Regions from separate parts of the Homo sapiens genome. Here region 2 is linked to region 1. Evidence: promoter capture Hi-C in 16 types of primary human blood cells and fetal thymus (Javierre and others, 2016). All regions are on one chromosome and are shown on one strand. The core of a region is centred on a gene start or on the middle of the fragment in contact, and the rest is flanking DNA. Distances in the headings are between cores, read along the strand shown.

Region 1 (4,546 bases), core at 1,146-3,645:
ATTATGTTGCCTAGGCTGGTTTCAAGCTCCTGGAAACTTCTCAAATGATGCTCCTACTTCAGCCTCCTAAGTAGCTGGGATTACAGGCATGAGCTGATGCGCCTAGCAGCTGTGGCACTCTTGCTTACCACCAACTCTTACATGTAGCCCTATCACCCAAATTTTGTGTTACCCTTCATTAGATGAAATACAATCCTTGAAGAATAGTTGATTCCAAGTCTTGGGGCAGGAAAAACGGTAAGAATGAATTTGGAACTATTTCTGCCAGAATTCAAGGATGCTTTCAAAAACAAGGGCAAGGCTGGGCATGGTGGCCCACACCCATAATCTCAGCACTTTGGGAGGCTGAGGTGGGAGAATCACTTGAGGCCAGGAGTTCAAGACCAGCCTGGGCAATGTAGTGAGACCTTGTCTCTACACAAAAAAAAAAAAAATTAGCTGGGTGTGGTGGCACACACCTTGTGGTCCTAGCTACTTGGCACGCTGAGGTGGGAGGACTGCTTGAGCCCAGAAGCTTGAGGCTGCGGTGAGCTAAGATCGTACCACTGTACTCCAGCCTGGGCAGCTGAGTGACAGACCCTGTCTCAGAAAAAAAAAAAAAAAAAAAAAAAAAAAAATTCAGGGAAATTGCTAAAAGGACTAAGAAGCTTCCCCTGGCAAGGTGGTGACAATCTGAACATAAAGTAATTAAAATAATAATACTAAAAAAAAGTTTTAAAGTACATAAAAAGGTAGTTATAATGTCAATGAAATACATATAACTTGACTTTTATTGATTTGACTAAGTAGGTAAGAATTACTATATATGGATATTTTATTTCTTCCAAAAAAAATACAATGTTTCTATCTGTGTAAGCAGGACAGAGTGAACAAAATCTTGGGAATGATTCAAAAAGTCTTGGAAAAATAGCAAATACACCAGGTAGAAAGATAGCCCAGTGGCTGATAAGAATTGTTGGTTATCCCAATAACCAATTAAAAAGAGCTTCTTCCAGTGTGTTCAATGCTTCCTCTAAAGAGCAATGCTAACTATACAGACGCAATCCTTTATCTCCTAGTAAAGGAAATCTCTATTATTATTATTATTTTTTTTTTTTGAGACAGAGGCTGGAGTGCAATGGCGCGATCTCGGCTCACTGCAACCTCCGCCTCCCAGGTTCAAGCAATTCTCCTGACTGAGCCTCCCAAGTAGCTGGGATTACAGGCACGCACCACCATGCCCGGCTTATTTTGTATTTTTAGTAGAGACAGGGTTTCTCCATGTAGGTCAGGCTGGTCTCGAACTCCCGACCTCAGGTGATCCTCCTGCCTCGGCCTCCCAAAGTGCTGGGATTACAGGCGTGAGCCACCGCGCCTGGCGGAAATCTTTATTATTTTTTAAAAACCTACTAATCATCATAAAGCACTATAAAGAAATATACATACACATTTTTTTCCATTTAAAAAAAAATTTAGAGGTGGGATCTTGCTATGTTGCCTAGGCTGCAGTGTAGTGGCTATTCACAGGCATGCTCATACCACACCTCAGCCTCAAACTCCTGACCTCAAGCAATCCTCCTGCCTCAGCCTCCCAAGAAGCCGGGACTACAGGTGCACCTGGCATATATATTAATTTAATAATGCCCACAGACCAGTTTGGTGGGGTACTGCCAGGAAAATAAAACTTAAAGAAATCCTAATTACTTGGAAAGCCATTAAGTCTCTATACTCAAAATATCAAATCTCTATGACCTACAAGGACTTCAAGAGTAACATGACATAGGTAAAAGCCTTTAGACTAGGGGTTCAAGTTTGGAGTCCCTTGGGCTATACTGCCAGGTCCCATGTACCAGCTGAGTATCAATCAGTTGACAACCCAGGGCCTGAAACCTTGGCTTGTCTGAGACAGTATTCTTTTTCTTTTTGGCCTAATCAAATTACTAAAATCCTAAAGTAGTATAAAAATGATAGAAATACAAAAAACCTGAGAAAGTCTAAAAGAAAACAAATATTCATCTAAAGACTTGGCATTTCTACAAGTTGTGCTATAGGATATTAGTACGTTTTGTGATCATATTTGCGTACTTATCTGCTGTAAAGAGGTTTGAAAAGCAGATGTATTAAATTTGGAAATGTCTTAGTCCCTAGAAGCAGAGACTGATTTATTACAAGTGATTTGTTGGGGGTATGATCTCAGAAAGGAAGTGAAGGAAGGAGGATAGTGCAGAGACACGCAAAGCAAAGCAAGGATGTGCCCTTGACTGGAGACTAGCTTTAGTCCCAACACAGGAAAACACTGGAGCACATCCTGCATTGGAGTCAGAGCCACCCTGAGGTAATGGGCTGGGCTTTTGTACCACATGATAATGGGCTGTGGGCTACTAGGGTAGGAGGACACCTCCCAGGCACTAGGACTCCGATTTAGCTGAGGACAATGTTGCAGAGAAAGGGCAGCTGAGGGCCACCAGCAGCTGACATTCACAACAAGTGGGGCAAACAGGTACACCGGCCTCGTGAAGGGAATGTCAGCCAGGACTCAACCCCAACCACTAAAAGGACAATGATGAAATGCTCAAACTGACTGTCTAATGGGTAAGTTTACTAATTTAAGGCATTATAAAAATGACAAGTTGTGATTAGGATTCTACATGCATATGAGATTTGAATGACTAGAAGAAATCATCTCAAAAGGTTAAAGAGCATCCTGTAGGGTTAGTGTGCTGGAAGAATAGAAAGATCACAGTGTAGCTGAAAACAATATGATATCAGAAACACAGGCTGGAAGCAGATCATGCAGGCACTTTTGAGCCAGGTTATTAAGTTTCCGTTTTACTCTAAGTATAAATGAGAAGCCATAGAAGGATTTTTAGGAAAGGATAATACATTATAATTTACGTTTTCTGAAGATAATTAGCTTAGAGGCTGTTCTCATTTAAATATATATGAACGCAGCACACATGAACACAGCACAATTTATTCATCCAACTACTGGTCCTACCATTCGCAGATCTGGATCCAATACGGTATGATTGCAGGAGAGAAGATCTTTCACCTCTTGAGGAAAATTACTTAGGTACTCTGGGTAGCAGTGACTAATCTGTAACAAAGCAAAGGCTCTTCTGAAGTTGCTCTCTTTCTCTCCTATAATTCAGATGCATACATTTAGGATGTTCTGCAAAACGAGAGTAAAAGGCTATGTTTCATAGAAGTAGATGGTTCCAAACAACCTTCTTTTCCTTCTACATGTTAATTTCTCCAACATTTATCATGGTTTCTCTAGTCTTAGTAATATTTATGGCATGATTTAGTACCTGCTTTTATGATGAATTTGAAGAAAAAAAATAGTCTTAAAGTTTTGTCCTGGTTAGTTATGCAAAAAGATCTAGTGACATTCTCTAACTCATGATAGGGAGAAAATAAAATTTGCAAAAAGGGAAAGTTAGAAAAATATTTTAATTAAGTTCCCATTCCAGAGTGGAATAAGGTTGAGTATTAGTGAAAAAACATTCAGCAAACTGTGTGTTAATACTGGTCTTTATTTAAGCAATTATATTCTTACCTGTGCCATAAACATCACCAGCTCTGCTAGTTCTTTGCTGGGTTTATTTGGTTGCAATTTGAAAATCTCCACATTGGATTTGTAGTGATTATACTGCTGTAGAAACTGCAGAAAAATAAAATTTAAGTTTGTCACATTGTATTACATGACTTTCTCAGTACAGACATTCAGTAGAGAAATTCTTAGTAGAAACTGTTGACGATCACATGGAGAAAAAGATAATGCAAAAGTATATAAAAACACTCCTTTTGCCTTATCTGCATTCTTCAAAGTGCGCTTTTTAAAGACCTGAGCACATCACAGATAATCTAAAGAACTTTTCCTTGGAATTATCACTACAAGTTTAGGCAGCATGGTGTAAGAACAGAGAAGCATGAATCCCAAATTCAGATTGTAGCCCTGTTCTGCCAGTTACTATCTAAATGATCCCGACTGCTGGGTGTAGTGGCTCACACTTGTAATCCCAGCACTTTGGGAGGCCAAAGTGGGAGGATCACTTGAGCCCAGGAGTTCGAGACCAAACTGGGTAACACAGGGAGACCTTGTCTCTACAAAAAATACAAAAATTAGCAGGGTGTGGTGGCGTGCACCTGTAATTCCAGCTACTCAACAGGCTGAAATGGGATGATCACTTGAGCCCAGGGAGGTTGAGACTGCAGTGAGCTATGATCATGCCACTGCACTCCAGCCTAGGCAACACGGAGGCCCTGTCTCACAAAATAAAAATAAAAATAAATGACCCCTACTACCATATCCATGTATGCAGAGCACTCAAATCAGCAGAAAAATAACAGGGCAGAAATATAAATTATATCTCAAGTACATGAAGCTCTCCAGTCAAAATCCCACCCCCCCACTGCCACCCCTTTTTAAAAATTATACTTTTAAGTTCTGGTATACATGTGCAGAATGTGCAGGTTTGTTACACAGGTATACATGTGCCATGGTGGTTTGCTGCACCCATCAACCTGTCATCCACATTAGGTATTTCTCCTAATGCTATCCCTC
Region 2 (4,546 bases), core at 591-3,090, 190 kb before region 1:
GGAAATTCCTCTAGAAAAGTAATTTCCAAAATGTGATTAGAGAGGGTGAGAGAATCTGATGATATAAAAAAGCATGTATTTCGTATCAAACAGTGAAAATTTAAATTGTTTGAGGAAGCTACACATGTTTTATGGTTTAGGGTACTATGTAAAGAATTATTCTGAAGGAAGTGTCACTGTTAAAAAGTAAAGTAGGTCAGGTGTGGTGACTCACACCTATGATCCCAGCACTTGGGGAGCCCAAGGCAGGTGGGGATCACTTGAGCTTAGGAGTTTGAGACCAACCTAGGCAACATGGTCTTTATCAGCCCGGTGTGGTGGTGTCCACCTATTGTCCCAACTACTCAGGAGGCTGAAGGGGAGGATCACTTAAGCCCAGGAGGTTGAGGCTGCATTGAACCATAATCACGCCACGCACTCCAGCCTGGGAACAGAGTGAGACTCTATCTCAGGAAAAAAAAAAAAAATTACCAAAAAATTATTAGAGTACAGCATGTAAACAGAAAAATACAGTATTCTCGTTATATAACAAGTTGATTCTTTAAGAATTCTTTACTTTTAAAAAGTGAATAAACTGACTTTCTGTAGCTTAGTAAAGCTTTTATCTCTTACACTTGTCGTGAAGACCGTAAACTCCAAAGCAGAGGAACTGAGTTTAATTCATTTTAATATATTCTCCACCTGCAATACTGAATAGTAGATTCACTCATGACTTTACAGGCCAGGAGTTATCTTCTGCTATTCTGTTAGAACCTGTTGGAATACTTTATGTATAACTTTATTTAGAGTTGCTTGGATTTTAAGTTCTCTATTATACACTAAATAAAAATGCATCATTGTTTTCCTGTTGGGACATACACATTCTGTGTTGGAACTATTCATCATCACAGTTATCATGATTGCATTCTGAGCTACTAAAAACAGAATTGATCTGCTTGCTGAGTTTTAATTCAAATTTTGCAGACTATATTTAGGGAAAACATCTTTTGAAAAGTTTTTTAGTTATAAAATATTTTATTTTTTTAAAAAATTATAGTTTTATGGCTAGTCTACTTTTTATCCCTGCAGGAGTCTCTTCTATGGCATTTTATTGGGAAGATACTGCCAATAGCTCCCAGAAAGTTCATAACCTTATAAGATAATCATTTTCATTCTAGGGTAGTTTTAATTATTAGAAACTTTATATATTAAGTCATAAACTGTCCTGATATGACTTCTGTAAATTTACTTTTGCTTTCTGGAATGACACATGTTCATTCCTTGTGAATATTTCATATATTTACATGTTGCTATTAGATCTCTTTTTATCCTCATAAATATTCCCTTTTTCTTTATTTACATCATCAGTAAAGACACTCAACTGCTATTAGAGGATAGTAGAAAATTACTGTTGATTTTGTCCATTGTAATAATGGTATGATTATATTTCAAAAAATATCAAGTGGAGATGCATACAGAATTATTTGTGGTACAATTGACATATTGCGTAGTATTTGTTTTAAATACTCAAAAAAAGAAGGAAAAGAAGTAGTAAGGATAGGAGGGAAATAAATTAAGGGAGGAAAAAACACCAGAAATCTCACTAGAAAAGTCCAAGGACAGGAACCAATGTAATCCTGACCTTCTCTTTAGTGACATCAATTTATTAATGAACCCTCTTTGAGATGTCTGTTAAGCCAGACATGGAAACATCTAAATCTGTTTTGTCATTACTCACTGAGTTAACTACTGGTTGAAGTTTTTCTCTAATTCTAGTGATTTCTGGTTACCTTTTTATTCACCAACAATAAAAAGTACCACTTTTCAAACTTTTTTTTGTTTTAGTATTTAACTCCTCCCTCACAAAAAATCCCCTTTCTTAGTGGAGTCAATCCATAGATCACAATATGTGTCGGCTGTAGTAATACAAGTGTTTTAGTTTACTCTCTTAAATCATTGATTACTTCTGTGTATCTCCTATAAAATAATGGTTAATGTTTGTATAGCACTTTGTTGTTAACAAGGTATTATCATAAATACCCCCATTTGATCTTGATTTAGAAGATTTTGCACATATATATACACATAACTCTAGTTTTAAAATGTGACACACATGTAAAATGAATTTGGAGACATAACTGTGTTAAATAGTTATTTGAGATGACTTTTTTCATGTTTCTGAAATTTTATGTTTACAGTCCAAGTAATCATAGAATCATAGGGATTTAATTGGCATTAGCAATCAATGCAGCCCACCCCATGCCTAATACATGAATCTTTTACCATCTCTCCAGTTTTGGTTTTAGCCTCTCTTTAAATATTTCCAGTTTAGGGGAGATTTATCACACATCAGGTCATTCTGTTTTCAGACCTGCTCTCTTACTAGGTAGTTCATTATTAACTTTGAAAAGAAATCTGCCACTCTGTAACTTATTCATTCATTTACTTATTAAATATGTACTGTTACAAGTACTATGCTTCTTTGGGAAACAAAAATGACCAAGGCAGTTTCTCTCTGGGAGTTCACAGTCACCTGAAGAAGACAACCTTAAGTTTAAGAGGCATAATGTAATATTACTATCACAGAACTTATTGCCATGGGAGCACGAAAGAAAGAGCACCTAAATGTAGCTAAGCAGCTAAGGGAGTACTTCATGCAGACTTTCTTGTTCACATAGATCAGATTTGCCTCAAGCCTTTTCAAATCTTTAAAAGACAAATTTTGTTTTCTCTTTCTTTCACAGCTTGTTCGTGTATTGGTATCTCCCACCAACCCTCCTGGTGCTACCAGTAGCTGCCAGAAGGCTATGTTCCAGTGTGGGTTATTGCAGCAGCTTTGTACTATCCTAATGGCTACTGGGGTTCCTGCTGATATCCTGACTGAGGTAAAGCAAATGAAGTCAAAGCCAACTCTGTGGAAGTTGAAATCCTGAATCCTAGGAAGAATTAGATATTTGTTGAAGGAAAAACTACAATAGTTAACCATTTTTTAGGTTAAAATTTTTAATGATCTTACTAAAATATAATTCACATAATGATAAAAGTATTGATTCCAAAAGATATACTCATCCCTCAAGTTTTATAGTACATAAATAATAATGTTAAAGCTTTGCAGATCCATCTACAAAGATTTCTCATTAATTTTGTTATATTCAACAGGAGTGCACAGTATGATTTCGTTTTTATTTTGAGAACAAAGTGACTTAGTCTTACTCAACCGGCAGATTCATTGAATAGTAAATTCTTTTCCCCTAATGTGTGGCATTCTCTGTTGCTTACCTATAAGAAAAAGAAGTTAGTTTGAAGAAAAAAAGTTTGTTTATATTTTTAAAATTTTTCTCAAATTAACACGTGCAATATCGAAAGTACAAATAATAAAAATTTTATAACAAAAATAACTGCCTTCAGCCTCAATTGTCCTTACTGTAAGTCCCACTTTACTTCCTCATGTCACCTCATAATTATTTTATGGAATTTATATTTAAATCAGTAGTTGGGGTTTATATTTTTACAGCTGTATTGATACCATTCCTGCTAAGCCAAATAGAGTCCTATATCCTTTTTTAAATATATATTTTTCTCATCCATGAGTTGTAATTGTGTTCTTCATTTTACTGTTACTCTATATATGCATAGGTATATATGCTTAATAATCATATACTTAACACTTTGTTTCCCACCACAGGCCACCTGCAGACCCTCCATTCTCCTACTCCAATCTGTGCTCTAATTCTTCCCCATGTCTCTTGTCCTGGGAATTTTTTTTGCCATCTTCCTAGGATTTCCTTTACTTGTCTCCTGACTTGGCTTCCTTGATTATCTGGATCCTATATCTTTATTTATTTATTTATTTATTTTTTTTTTTTTTTGTACAGAGTCTCAGTCTGTTGCCCAGGCTGTAGTACAGTGGCATGATCTCAGCTCACTGCAACCCCCGCCTTCCGGGTTCGAGCAATTCTCCTACCTCAGCCTCCTGAGTAGCTGGGATTACAGGCACCCGCCACCATGCCCGGCTAATTTTTGTAATTTTAGTAGAGACAGGGTCTCACCATGTTGGCCAAGCTGGTCTCGAACTCCTGACCTCAAATGATCCACCCATCTTGGCCTCCCGAAATGTTGGAATTACAGACAGGAGCCAATGCTCCTGGCCTGGATCACATATCTTTTTCCTCTATCCCTTGGTTCATTAACTTTATTTTTCTTAATTTTCTTTTCTTTTCTTTTCTTTTCTTTTTTTTTTTTGAGATGGAGTTTCGCTCTTGTTGCCCAGGCTGGAGTGCAATGGCATGATCTCGGCTCACTGCAACCTCCGCTTCCTGGGTTTGAGCAATTCTTCTGCCTCAGCCTCCAGAGTAGCTGGGATTACAGGCGACTGCCACCATGCCCAGCTAATTTTTTGTATTTTTAGTAGAGACGGGGTTCCACCACATTGGCCAGGCTCTTGACCTCAAGTGATCCGCCCACCTCAGCCTCGTGAAGTGCTAGGATTACAGGCGTGAGCCACTGCACCCGGCCGTTATTTGTCTTAATTTTCTAAAAAAAAGAATAAGTAACGAGAAATTTTTTT

Evidence for each region. The method cuts DNA at HindIII sites, captures the fragments that hold promoters and counts their contacts. A CHiCAGO score of 5 or more calls a contact.
Region 2: a fragment that was not itself captured here is called in contact with the fragment with the promoter of SDAD1-AS1 in region 1 in 1 of 17 cell types (M2 macrophages); the score reaches 5.7 in M2 macrophages.

What each region holds. Positions count from the first base shown.
Region 1 is chr4:75,978,395-75,982,940 of GRCh38, forward strand. SDAD1-AS1 (SDAD1 antisense RNA 1) reads left to right here and starts at 2,396. Exons shown (of 3, transcript NR_125906.1): 1 at 2,396-2,571. It overlaps SDAD1 (SDA1 domain containing 1), which reads right to left. Exons shown (of 22, transcript NM_018115.4): 2 at 3,539-3,643; 3 at 2,978-3,076. The HindIII fragment of the contact is 11,776 bases long and covers 646-4,546 here.
Region 2 is chr4:75,784,339-75,788,884 of GRCh38, forward strand. It overlaps USO1 (USO1 vesicle transport factor), which reads left to right. Exons shown (of 24, transcript NM_003715.4): 10 at 2,724-2,864. Among named protein-coding and RNA genes, the nearest start is that of USO1, 62 kb to the left of the region's middle. The HindIII fragment of the contact is 2,488 bases long and covers 597-3,084 here.